Linked DNA regions of Homo sapiens: region 1 is linked to region 2. Evidence: promoter capture Hi-C in human tissues and cell types (Jung and others, 2019). All regions are on one chromosome and are shown on one strand. The core of a region is centred on a gene start or on the middle of the fragment in contact, and the rest is flanking DNA. Distances in the headings are between cores, read along the strand shown.

Region 1 (6,322 bases), core at 3,031-5,530, 110 kb after region 2:
TTGCACATTTTATATATATTTTTTTCTTTTTTTTTTTTTTTGAGACAGAGTCTCACTCTGTCACCAGGCTGGAGTGCAGTGGCGCAATCTCTGCTCACTGCAACCTCTGCCTCCCAGTTCAAGCGATTCTCCTGCCTCAGCCTCCCGAGTAGCTGGGACTAGAGGTGCACACCACCACGCCCAGCTAATTTTTGTATTTTTAGTAGAGACGGGGTTTCAGCATGTTGGTCAGGATGGTCTCGATCTCTTGACCTCGTGATCTGCCCTCCTCGGCCTCCCAAAGTGCTGGGATTACAGGCATGAGCCACTGCGCCTGGCTGCAGATTATATTTTTATAGAATATATTTTTTTTAACTGCCAAATGCCTGTACCAATATGGGGCTGGCATCCCAAAGTACCTAGTGTCTGTCTGTTTTGTTCACATACTCTCCTTCAGATCAGTTATTCCTTGACTTCTATTATTGTTCCTAAGCTCATGATTCCTAGCCTTGCTTCTCTGATCTGGTCCGCTCATTAAGGCTATAGATGTGGTCTAATTATTTCCAGATGACTTGCAGGATATTTATACCTGGATTTTAAATTGTCATTGCAGACTTTAGATGTTGAACATAAATTTGGAAATATGTGTGCTCAGTTCCCTTCTTTGTCAGTGGCACTGCTGGTTTTCTGTGATTTTTGACTCCTTAAATCTAGCCCATTAATAAGCTTTGTCAGTTCTTCTTTTCCATTTCGGGTTCCATGGCTTTATTCCTCAGTCTGTTTTCTGGATTTGCCTTCTTCCTACATGGTTCTGATGCTATTGTTCCCTTGCTGTCTTTCATAACTCTATCTCATAAACTTGTGCTCATAATTTTTGAGCTGAAAAAGACAATATATCTCTAGTTCAACCCTGTCATTTTACAGAAGAGGAAAATGGTGTCTGTCCTCCTGTACCTAGTGCTCAAGGCTTTCTGAAAAGTTACTCCACTCAACTTTTTTAGGGCTAGTTTCTGTTCTTCCTTCCTTTAAACTGTCATCTCCAATCAGAACAGACCCATCATTTTCCCCCGCCCCCACCAACCAGCACATTCACCTGCTTGCATGCATGTGCACACACACAACCTGGTGACTACTTTTGTGACTTTGCTCTTGCTGTTCACCCAGACTGGAACCTGTTACCTTTCCTCCCTCTCTAGTCTATATTTCTACCCATCTTCCTAAGCCCTTGCCAACCATAGCCCAATAGTTTTCTTTAATTTCTTTGTATTGATTATCTGATTATCTTTATTGCCTTGTACATGCCTCCTCATTTTTCCCACCTTTTTTTTTTTTGGTGACAGGATCCCACTCCCTCACCCAGGCTGGAGTGCAGTGGCACAATCTCAGCTCACTGCAACCCTACCCTTCCGGGGTCAAGCGATTCTCCCACCTCAGCCTCCCGAGTAGTTGGGACCACAGACACCACCACGCCTGGCTAATTTTTGTATTTTTGGTAGAGATGGGGTTTCACCATGTTGCTCAGGCTGGTCTTGAACTCCTGACCTCAAGTGACCTGCCCACCTTGGCCACCCAAAGTAATGGGATTACAGATGTGAGCCACCGTGCCTGGCCTTTATCCGCCCTTTTAATTTTTTGAATGGTGCAAATGATCACCTTTATTTTTTTAATACCAATACACATGCCTTCTTGTTAATTGGTTTTTGTATGTATGCTTATCACCTCAATTTAATTGCTGGCCTTAAACATTTTTGAGTATAAGTATTCATGGTAACTTGTCATGGCATTAAGTATAGACATATTAAAAAATACTTTTTAATAGATTGGTAAATTGTGAAAATTATGTCCAGATATGTGGATTTTAATTTATTTTTAAAGTTATTGTTTTATCTGTGTGTTTCTGCCTCATAGAGGTAAACTGGGGAATGAGTAAGAATATTTCGCTGTATATTTAAATTATATTTCTGAGTCTTTTTTGCTGATAGACTTGTTCTGGGATGACTTAGTAGGGGCCATTACTTTTACTTCTGTGTACTTTTAAAGTTGTCTAGTAAGATGAAGCTTTTCACAGTATTTGTGATAGTTTGCTAGTTTCCTTTTGGAAAATTTTGAGAAATTAATGTTGCCTGAAGTTACTAATTTCAGTTCTAAGATTTTGCATATTGTTTTGTATTCCAAGACTTGTAAAGGGTGACAGGAAAATCTTTAGAGTATGGAAACTGAGCTCAAGATCTCATAAATAATGCTTTCAAGTACATCACACTCTGTAATGTAGAATGGAGCATTAGAAAAGGAAAATAGATGCGTAAAACTTGAAACCATAGGAGGTAAATTTACTCTTGTAATTAAATATCAGTTTTCTTATTTCATCATATTTGGGAATTCATCGAGTGCCTCTTGAGTCTTTAATGAGAAACGGGTAGCAGGTATCAGAACCTAATATTAGCTCTCATGCATCTTAGTCACTTGTTTTAGTCTTTTGTAAATGACATATGGCAAAATGATCTGTTTAGAGAGGTGTGGTGCTCACCTTTTTTTTTTCATTTTTACACATGTGAAGAATTTGATAAATATTCATATCAGAATAGCTCAGAGAATGTCAGTGGTTCTTATGGAGTAGTAGTAAGGCTTGACAAGCCCAGCAGGGGATTTTGATATCTCCCTCTCATGTACTCAGCCTAGGGTACCCTTTTTCATTTTTCCTCATATATTCTGTCCCACACAACTGCCAATAAGTAGTAAATGGCCAAAAGTTAGACATAGTGGTAAAGAAGCAAAACCTATGTTTCATAGTTTAGCTTGATGTTAAGTGGTTTTTAATGTAGTTGTTTCTGTTTTCTTAGGAAATATGGAAATATTTTTGTGCCATACCTCCTTTTTGGGTAATGTGACTTGTCATTGGCCTTTAGGTTTTAACAGGTGACTTTGGATCTTTTCCATAAGCCCTAGGGCTTAGGTCCTCAGAGATTTTGGAAGAACAGCTGTCACCTCCGGCTCCCCTCCATTTCTCCAACCTTTTACATATACTGTGTAATTTTAATTTCCTTTGCCCCTTCTTTAAACAAACCCTAAAAAGACGAAACGTATGCTTTGCATTAAGAGTTGGGCATATGCCTAGGAAACAAGCTTTCTGAGCAAACTTAATATAGGTAACTTAGTTTTTTTTGAAGCCATGTATTACATCTCAAAGCCCTGAACTGCAAGTTTAGAGATCTGGGTTCGTTTCAAATTTTTATTAGCTGGTAACCTTGATTATGTTATTTAATCTTTCTGATTTATAATTATAGGATCTATAAAAAGGCGATACCTGCCATGCCTATTTTATAGGATTGTTATAAAGTGCAAATAAGAAAACATTTTGAAAATAAAGACATTATGAAGTTGTAAGGTATTATCCTTCAGCATTTGTTCAGCAAACATTGAATACCTGCTATGTGCTAGGTACTTTACTGGGGTTACAAAAATGGGTGACATGTAGTCTGGTTTTTTATAAACTTGCAGTCATGGAAGGATGCAGATATGTAATCAGAAAATTGCAATACAGTGCAGTGTGATAAGGTGCAGTAATCAAGCCCGTTGCAAGGCAGAGTTGTGGTCTGTGTTACCTCTTTTGAAGAAGTGGAAAATACTGGGATGAGTAAGAAGGCACTGGCAGAAAGTGAACTTGATAATGAGTCAGAGATCAGGTAATGAAGGACTTTGTATGCTAAGGGATTTAGAAGTTTGGTCTTCATTTGTAGACCTGCATTTCTCAGTGTCCTCTGAAAATCTAGTTTCATGAGATGGTGTCACAGGGATGTTGACTGCTGAGGACGGAGGATAGTGTTTTTTGGTAAAGTGTTAGGCACACACTATTATTGTTATTAGACTCCTCAGTGCTTATATAATGCGAATAGTGTATTTTGTGAATATGGAGGGTGAAGTTAGGTGGCTGCAGCATGCAGTATTTTCCACACTTATTCCGTGTGCACCACCTTTTTTCCTAAGAACATCTAAGGCACAATTGAGGGAAATGCTGTTTATGTTGGGGAGGTACTGGTGAATTTTAAGCTGCGACATAGTACATGATCAGATTTTTAATTGTCAAGAAAATTCTGGCAGCAGGGACTGGGGTGTATTGGAAGACAAGAAAGTTGAAGAAGGGATACTTGCAACGGAAGCTCTTGCTGGATGTCGGGAAATAAATGATGAGAGTTTGAAGTGCCAATAGAGCAGGAAGGGGCAAATTTTAGACATATTTAGGAGTTAGTTTCAGGGAACTTTGAAGACTGATCAGATGTGGAACAAGGTTTAGTTAGGGAGGGAGGAGTCTAGGATGATTTCCAGGTTCTTGACATACCAGCTAGAATTAACAGAGGTAAGGAATTCAGGATGGAAGAGTAGGTCGCAGGCTTATTTATTTGTAAGGACTCACTTAAAATGTCTCCCATTTCTGAACCCAATGATGTACTTTGACTTTCAGCACTTAGTTCACTTTAGGATACAAAAATGTATAGTGTAAAAATAAGTCTTTAATTAATTCATTGTTTTGTTTTCCTTTTTCAGTTAGGGCCTAGTCAAAATTTTGAAGCTGAGTCAATTCAAGATAATGCGCATATGGCAGAGGGCACAGGTTTCTATCCCTCAGAACCCATGCTCTGTAGTGAATCGGTGGAAGGGCAAGTGCCACATTCATTAGAGACCTTGTATCAATCAGCTGACTGTTCTGATGCCAATGATGCCTTGATAGTGTTGATACATCTTCTCATGTTGGAGTCAGGTTACATACCTCAGGTAAGTACTGCAAGCAAAACACAGACATCTTATGATTGCTCATACATGTGGATGGTTCCTGCTCTCAAGTTGCCCGTAGTCTGAGAGTGGCAGAGAGAGACAAAAATATAAAGCACTGTGCTATATTGGTGAAGTTCTGGGAGAAACATACTCATATATAGGATGCCAGGAATTCATGGAGGAGAACATTTAGAATATTGCTTCTCAAACTTTAATGCGCTTTGGAATACCTGGGGACCTTATTAAAATGCAGATTCTGATTTAGTAACTGTAGAATGGACCGTGAACTTCTTCATACTCCTGCATAATACCAATGTTGCTGGTCTGTGAGCCATGTTATAAGTTACAAAGATACAGAGTAGTTCGGTGATCAGTGCACACCTGCAGCATGCCATGCACTGACCTAGAAATTAGGATATAAAAATATTGGGATATTTCTTGTCTTCAAGGAGTCCATACATAGAGGAGAGAGATGAATAAAAAGATACTCAGAAATAACACAGGTAAACATAGATAATAATACAATTGAAGTGTAATGGAAATATGAATAGAATGCTAGGGGATGAAAGGAAATGGCAAACAATTTTTCTTTGAAAAAGGCTTTACGGAGGAAGTGATATTTGAGCCGGAGTTTTAAATAATCATATGGCTTTGCTAGGAGAGAAGTGAGTCTTTGAAGAGAGAGATCAATCCCTGTTTCCATGATGCAGTTTTACCTATTTGAACAAAAATTTTGATTAAAAGTGTTCTAATATATTATCTTATACAATATGGTTATCCTACAATATAAAATATATTGGCAATGTTAATGATTTGATGCATTTTATTAAGAGGACTGTGTGGAGTGATTATTTCAAACAAGTTAGGAGTCTTTTGGATTTTTAATCTTTTTGAGAGTAACACCTTTCTTCATTATTTGTTTCCCTTTCATTTCGTTCCCCAGGGCACCGAAGCCAAAGCACTGTCCATGCCGGAGAAGTGGAAGTTGAGCGGGGTGTATAAGCTGCAGTACATGCATCCTCTCTGCGAGGGCAGCTCCGCTACTCTCACCTGTGTGCCTTTGGGAAACCTGATTGTTGTAAATGGTAATTGGATAGCATAGTCATGGTTGCTGGTTTATGGATTCTTAGACGTTTCTTTCCAAATGTTTTATAGCCACTTCAGTGATTGGCTATCATGATACAGTTGTGAGTCCTTCTCAACTGTATTTAATTCCTAGGCCACTGATAACATGTGTCTGGAAGATCATGGAATATGAGGTTGTTGAGTTGTTTAGGCCAGCACCCTTCATTCTTAGGGCATCCATTTTTTTGATGTCTTAATCTTTGTAATATTTTGCTCTGGGGGATAATATTTAATATTATCCAATATTATCAGTATTTGATAATAGGAGTGAAATGAGCCTATTACACATGAACTCCTTGGAGAATACTTTTTCTTTATGCCTGTGGATGGCTTTATTTTTTTAACGAAGGTCTTGAACTGAGACATGGGGAGCTAGACCTGGGGTCACCATTTATCCAAGTTGGCATCCCTGTGACCAGCAATGCACAACAACAATGCTAAGTTTACT
Region 2 (6,529 bases), core at 3,610-6,109:
ATCAATGACATACTGGATAAAGAAAATGTGGTACATATACACCATGGAATACTATGCAGCCATAAAAGAGAATGAGATGATGTCCTTTGCAGGAACATGGATGGAGCTGGGCGACAGAGTGAGCCTCCATCTCAAAAAAAAAAAAAAAAAAAATTGTGCCGGGCGCGGTGGCTCATGCTTGTAATCCCAGCACTTTGGGAAGCCAAGGCAGGTGGATCATGAGGTCAGGAGATCGAGACCATCCTGGCTAACACGGTGAAACCCCATCTCTACTAAAAATACAAAAAATTAGCCGGGCATGGTGGTGGGCGCCTGTAGTCCCAGCTACTTGGGAAGCTGAGGCAGAAGAATGGTGTGAACCCAGGAGGCGGAGCTTGCAGTGAGCCGAGATCGTGCCACTGCACTCCAGCTTGGGCAACAGAGCAAGACTCCGTCTCAAAAAATAAATAAATAAAAAATAAAATAAAAGTTAAAAAATAAATGACCCGTCTTATTGACTAACCTCACCACGGTCTTATGGATTCAATTAACCTGTTCAATTCTTTTTTGTGTTTACTCCATCAACTTCCTGTGTAACTGCACTCCACAAGGCACATAACCACACTCCACAAGGCACATAAAACCACTGAAGAGAGGAGGCAAATGAGGTCTTTTATCCTCCCCTTCAATTGTCTTACAAAGCTCATGCCTGAGTTTAGAGCATAAGTCATCAGTTTAGTCATAAGTCTTATAACTTCCCAAATGAATGCTTTAACTGCAGCTACAGTACATATCATGTGTTGAGTAGCACTTCTCATGTGCTTTTAAGCAACTCTTTCAATATTGAGAGACAAGATTCAATACTAGGGAAATATTCTATGGTATTACATCATTAATTTTATGTTACAGAGACCATATATTGAAAATGTATAAATAATGAAGTCCAGTCTTACTTTCAATACTGTGTGTAAGTTCATTGAGTGTGCAGACCCCTTAAGCTTGCACTCACCTGTGTGTTAGACACACATTCACAAACACATCACACAGACCTACACATAGACACCTTCTGCCTTGGTGCACACAAATCCACCCCACCTAAAGTGAATATGCCTGTTTCCAGGGATTGCACATAGGTGACAAGAGTTTGTCACCTGAAAAACCAGTTTTAGTTCACCCCAAATTCTCGTTCTTTCCAGGTGTCTTGGATCATGGAGATGGTCTAGATGAAAGTCAGCAATTAAGTTCCACATTTCTTATACATACACTTTTTTTTTTTACACCTGGTGAATGATTCCAGAATACATACCATTTACTGTGTTCCTTGGGGTCACCTGCAATTAGAAGAAAGAAAACACTCTGAGGATGAGATCATACTGTGGGCTGTTTGCACAGGTCTTTCGTTCTCTTAGGGGCTCTTGGTAACCAAGATGGGAAAGAATGTTTAAGTCTAAAGCCCCAACATCTAGAGTAGAGTTCATCTGTAGAAAGCACAATAGCTTTTGTTGAAAAGTATCTTTGTTGGCCGTGCTCAGTGGCTCACGCCTGTAATCCCAGCACTTTGGCAAGCCGAGGGAGGTAGATCACGAGGTCAGGAGATCGAGACCATCCTGGCTAACATGGTGAAACCCTGTCTCTATTAAAAATACAAAAAAAAAAAAAAATTAGCCAGATGTGGTGGCGGGCACCTGTAGTCCCAGCTACTCAGGAGGCTGAGACAGGAGAATGGCGTGAACCCGGGAGGCGGAGCTTGCAGTGAGCCGAGATCGTACCACTGCACTCCAGCCTGGGCTACGCAGCAAGACTCCGTCTCAAAAAAAAAAAAAAATCTTTGTCAAGACCATTTTGAAGTAGCAGTTACAAAATACTTAATCTAAAGTGGAAAGCTTGTTGCAGAGGAAAGTGTCCCCTAACATGCTGTGTGTGACCCAGCCCTGCCAATTCCAGATGTCCTCTTCAATCAGGTGTCAGTGGGTGGGGTGCACCCCTCCATCCCCAAGGAAACATCATCTAACACCTATAACGCACCTGATCATTTTTCTCTATCTGATATCAATTGAAAAATGAAATAACCAAGAAAATTACACACATGTTAGGCAAAGACAGGCTACTTTACCTTGGTAACAGAGAAGGGGTCCTCACTTGCCCACTCTTTGGAATCCACCTTCCATTGATCTTCTGGGGGAACTGAAAGGACACAACATGACTGTCAGTTCATTGGTGGTGACATGAACAAAGGGCTAGAACTTATGGATGTGGTTGGTTAACAAGCATGAATTGAGCTTCTCCTGGGCCATCCTCTTCTATGGACCAAGGAAGGCAGAGAGACGGGCAGAAAGGAAATGAGAAATAGAGCCTTTGTCTTTCCAGGTAATAGCAGATGAAAGCGACACGAAATACTCAAACTTCAAATGAGCAACTACTAAAATGCATGCTAGAATTCAACCACAGAGTCCTGTCACTCCCTCAGCCCATTTTAAAGTCCAGCAGAACTGCCACTGACTCCTTGATATTGACCAACTCCCTTTCAACCTCCACAGACCCCCATCTGCTGCTGTAACATTTAACATCTGGGGTATAGGATTCAGCCCCTGTTTATGTGTAAATTTTTATTGAGGAACTAAATTCAATATCAGGTACCAGGGCTAATTATATTTACTCAATTCTTTGTTATAAATCAATTATTAAAAACTGGAAAATACTGAAATACATGTTAAAATATCCACTGTAAATCAAAGATCTTCCTTTTAGTCTTCCCTTCCTATCCCTTGTGTTTGCAATCATTGCATGAGGGGGCCTAGTTTCAGCCAGGTCTAGTTCACCTAGCCATATGAGGTCTAGTTTCAGCCCAAGCTACCCACAGTGAAGGAAGGCAGAGTGAGGAGATGACCCCATGTGAGCACCGAGGCTCTTTAACCCAGCTGTACAGGAGAGTTGCCACAAGGGTGACACCTGAGGCTAATTGTGAAGTGGTATCCTGTGTTCTGTGATTCTTGTGCCTTAGCCACCTGAGTAGCTGGAATTACAGGTGTGCACCACCACGCCCAGCTAATTTTGCATTTTTAGTAGAGATGGGGTTTCTCCATGTTGGTCAGGCTGGTCTTGAACTCCTGACCTCAGGTGATCTGCCTGCCTCGGCCTCCCAAAGTGCTGGGATTACAGGCATGAGCCACCGCGCCCAGCTGCCTTATTTATTCTTAACACATGTAAGTGCCTCTAACTTTCGATTGTTTCCAAGTCATGGAACGAACAACCTCCTTAGAAAGAACTCTGAAGGATAGGTCAGGAGAACTAAGTCACACAATCCATCAGAAACAGTATTAACAGTTTTTCAAAGTTACACTTTATATGCAAACTTGTACAATTATCATCTTATTATTTTTAAATGTATCTTTACATATATGTATGTGACCTACGTGTTTCCTGGTGTGAGTAAATCTGTATGTTCTTGGTTAATAGTGTTTACCGATTCATTTCACTTCTCTATCTTTGTATGTTGAAATATGAACTACTCTCTGGATGAGAAAAAATGATTACACTTGATTATATTTACCTTTGGAAAGGTAAGTGGTTTGGGTGATTGACTATAATTGTTATCTCTATCATTTTGGATAAACCCCAATCATAAAAATAAGTGTGTTTTGTTTCACACACTGACACATAGACAATACACATTCTTACTTCTTTTCAAAAAGTTAATATGTGAATATAAATGACATATTCCAAATTTACTAAACTGAATACACATTTCATGAAAAAGGAGAGAGGAAAGACATACTAAAAACAGGCCAGGGCCTGGTGTGGTGGCTCACGCCTGTAACACCACCACTTTGGGAGGCCGAGGCAGGTGGATCACCTGAGGTCAGGAGTTCAAGACCAGCCTGGCCAACATGGTAAAACCTTGTCTCTACAAAAATACAAAAATTAGCCGGGCATGATGGTGGGTGCCTGAAATCCCAGCTATTCGGGAGGCTGAGGCGAGAGAATCATTTGAACCCGGGAGGCGGAGGTTGTAGTGAGCCGAGATCGCACCGTTGCACTCCAGCCTGGGCGACAGAGTGAGACTCCATCTCAAAAACAAACAAACAAACAAAAAAACAACAACAAAAGACAAAGATGGACACACTTCGTTGTGTTAAAAGCCTCAAAGACATCTGCATCATTCTAGCTTTGCTCCTAATTTTTAAAATTAATGATTTTAATAGGTTCTTAATTAGGTAAAAACTGCATTAAAACATACTTTGCCATATTTTTCCCAGAAGGATACCTAATTGGGTGGTTTGAGGGGTGCCAGATGTAACAGGAAATAAGACATGTCTTTTAAATAAAGGAAAAGCTCAAAGGCATCCTGCTTGATACTAGAATCAAATATATAAATTGAGGAATAAAACATAACCGGGAAACACATTTATAACTGCATATGAAAAATACAGAGGAGAATTTTTTAATAAAATATATTTTTAAATATTAACTAGTACATTTGAGAGGACAGCATTCAACAGGCCAATGTGAACATACCTTTAATGCAGGAACTCAGGTTCCCCATAAGAAAGACCAGAATCTGTGAAAATGACAGCAAGCATGTTCAACCTGCTATGAACTTTGAAAAACTCAGCACAGACAGTGGCAGTTAGGACCGAGGGCAAGATATACCCAATCACATAACCATGGTGATAGGAGCATCATCAACGTCTCAGGGTAAAGTCACAATGTGTATTGTGAGGTCCGCTTTCTGCTGCACCAACAAGAGTGCTTTCACACGCACAGGAGGGTCATTAAAGATTAGGCCTTTTACGGCAGGGAGTGGTGGCTCACACCTGTAATCCCAGCACTTTGGGAGGCCGAGGTGGGTGGATCACGAGGTCAGGAGATAGAGACCATCCTGGCTAACATGGTGAAACCCCGTCTGTACTAAAAACACAAAAAATTAGCCGGGCGTGGTGGCGGGAGCCCCCAGCTACTCGGGAGGCTGACGCAGGAGAATGGCGTGAACCCGGGAGGCGGAGCTTGCAGTGAGCCGACATAGCGCCACTGCACTCCAGCCTGGGCGACAGAGCGAGACTCCGTAAAAAAATAAAATAAAATAAAATAAAATAAAAGATTAGGCGTTTTACTTAAAAAAAAAACAACAAAACCCAAGCTCATTAATTACTATTCTGTGCTTATTAAAATAAGTTTTAGGAGGAGAAATTGTGTACCCCAAAATACACTCAATGGCAAGAATTTCAAACTGAGCAGGGGCAAAACCGATATGTTAGTAACAACCAGAAGTTCCATTCTCGATTCGAAATTCCATTGCCAAATATTTCTACCATTCCTGAGTCATCTAATATTTCTAGAACCAATAAGCAAACTGTTCAGAATTAAAGACAGCATAAATGGATATTGTTATAAAAGTCATGTTTCTTAAAAAGTGACATTTTTTAAAGTCACATTTTAAAAGTCATATTTCCCTAAAAAGTCATATTTCTACCATTCCTGAGTGATCTAATGTTTCTAGAAGCAATAAACTGTTCAGAATTAGAAAAAAGTGTTACTTGATATTATAAAAATCATATTTCTCTCACAATATAATTATGAAACTTATTTTTCCACTTATCTCTATATATTACTATGCACTTATTTATCTCCCAAACTTTGTGAATTCACAGAGGAATTTGTCTACCATTGTGTATGTAAACGGCTGGCCATTCACTGAGTATTTAAAGGAAAAAAAAATCACTATATTTTCACCAGTGCATCTTCTCGGTGGGGTGAACACTTTGGGTGAATACATATAATTTTTTATTTGAGACAGGGTCTCACTCTGTCACTCAGGCTGGAGTGCAGTGGCTTGATCATGGCTCACTGCAGCCTTGACCTCCCAGGCTCAGGTGATCCTCCCAACTCAGCCTCCCATGTAGCTGGGACTACAGGTTCTTGCCGCCATGCTCAGCTAATATTTTGTAGAGATGGGGTTTTTCCATGGTGCCCAGGCTGGTCTTCAACTCTTGGATTCAAGCAATCCACCCACCTCGACCTCCCAAAGTATTGGGATTAGAGGCGTGAACCACCATGCCCAGCCTAATACATATAATTAAAGTGTTTCTGAATGCAGAATTTTAGATAACTTTCAAAATGTATAACTACGTGTGTATTCTGGCTGATACATAACACCCAATTGCAAATACTTTTATGATATGCCCAAGAAAACAAGCTGTTGAAAGTGACCTGCCCTAAAATAAATAGAACAAATGAAAATTTTAGGGTTAAGATGAGAGAGTTGCTATGTTTCAAAGAGAATAGGTACCCTTCATGATATAAATATTACAGTACAAATGTCTATCATTGCTAAGTACAAATTTCTAGAACAAATAAATAGGTCACAAATGATGTATACAATCTGCATTAATATAGATGATGCTATATTTTGTCCAGTGATTATAAAACAGAGGGTGTAATGGGGTAGGTGCTGAAAGAATAGGTCATTCTGTGTTGTTATAAACAGAAAATTTCAATGGCTTCCAGATTGAACAAATATATGTATATACACAAATTATACACACACACACAC

The links. Contacts are between HindIII fragments. The study calls those that stand out against the background at their distance.
Region 1: a fragment that was not itself captured here is called in contact with the fragment with the promoter of RFPL3S in region 2 in 2 of the 25 tissues and cell types used here (IMR-90 fibroblasts and lymphoblastoid cells).

What each region holds. Positions count from the first base shown.
Region 1 is chr22:32,479,376-32,485,697 of GRCh38, forward strand. FBXO7 (F-box protein 7) reads left to right here. Exons shown (of 9, transcript NM_012179.4): 3 at 4,522-4,749; 4 at 5,693-5,834. Among named protein-coding and RNA genes, the nearest start is that of FBXO7, 7.7 kb to the left of the region's middle. RefSeq lists an enhancer at 6,134-6,303. The HindIII fragment of the contact is 5,819 bases long and covers 1,372-6,322 here.
Region 2 is chr22:32,366,405-32,372,933 of GRCh38, forward strand. It overlaps RFPL3S (RFPL3 antisense), which reads right to left and starts at 4,860. Exons shown (of 5, transcript NR_104232.1): 1 at 4,794-4,860; 2 at 4,495-4,537; 3 at 2,093-2,163; 4 at 1,286-1,310. The HindIII fragment of the contact is 22,540 bases long and covers 1,420-6,529 here.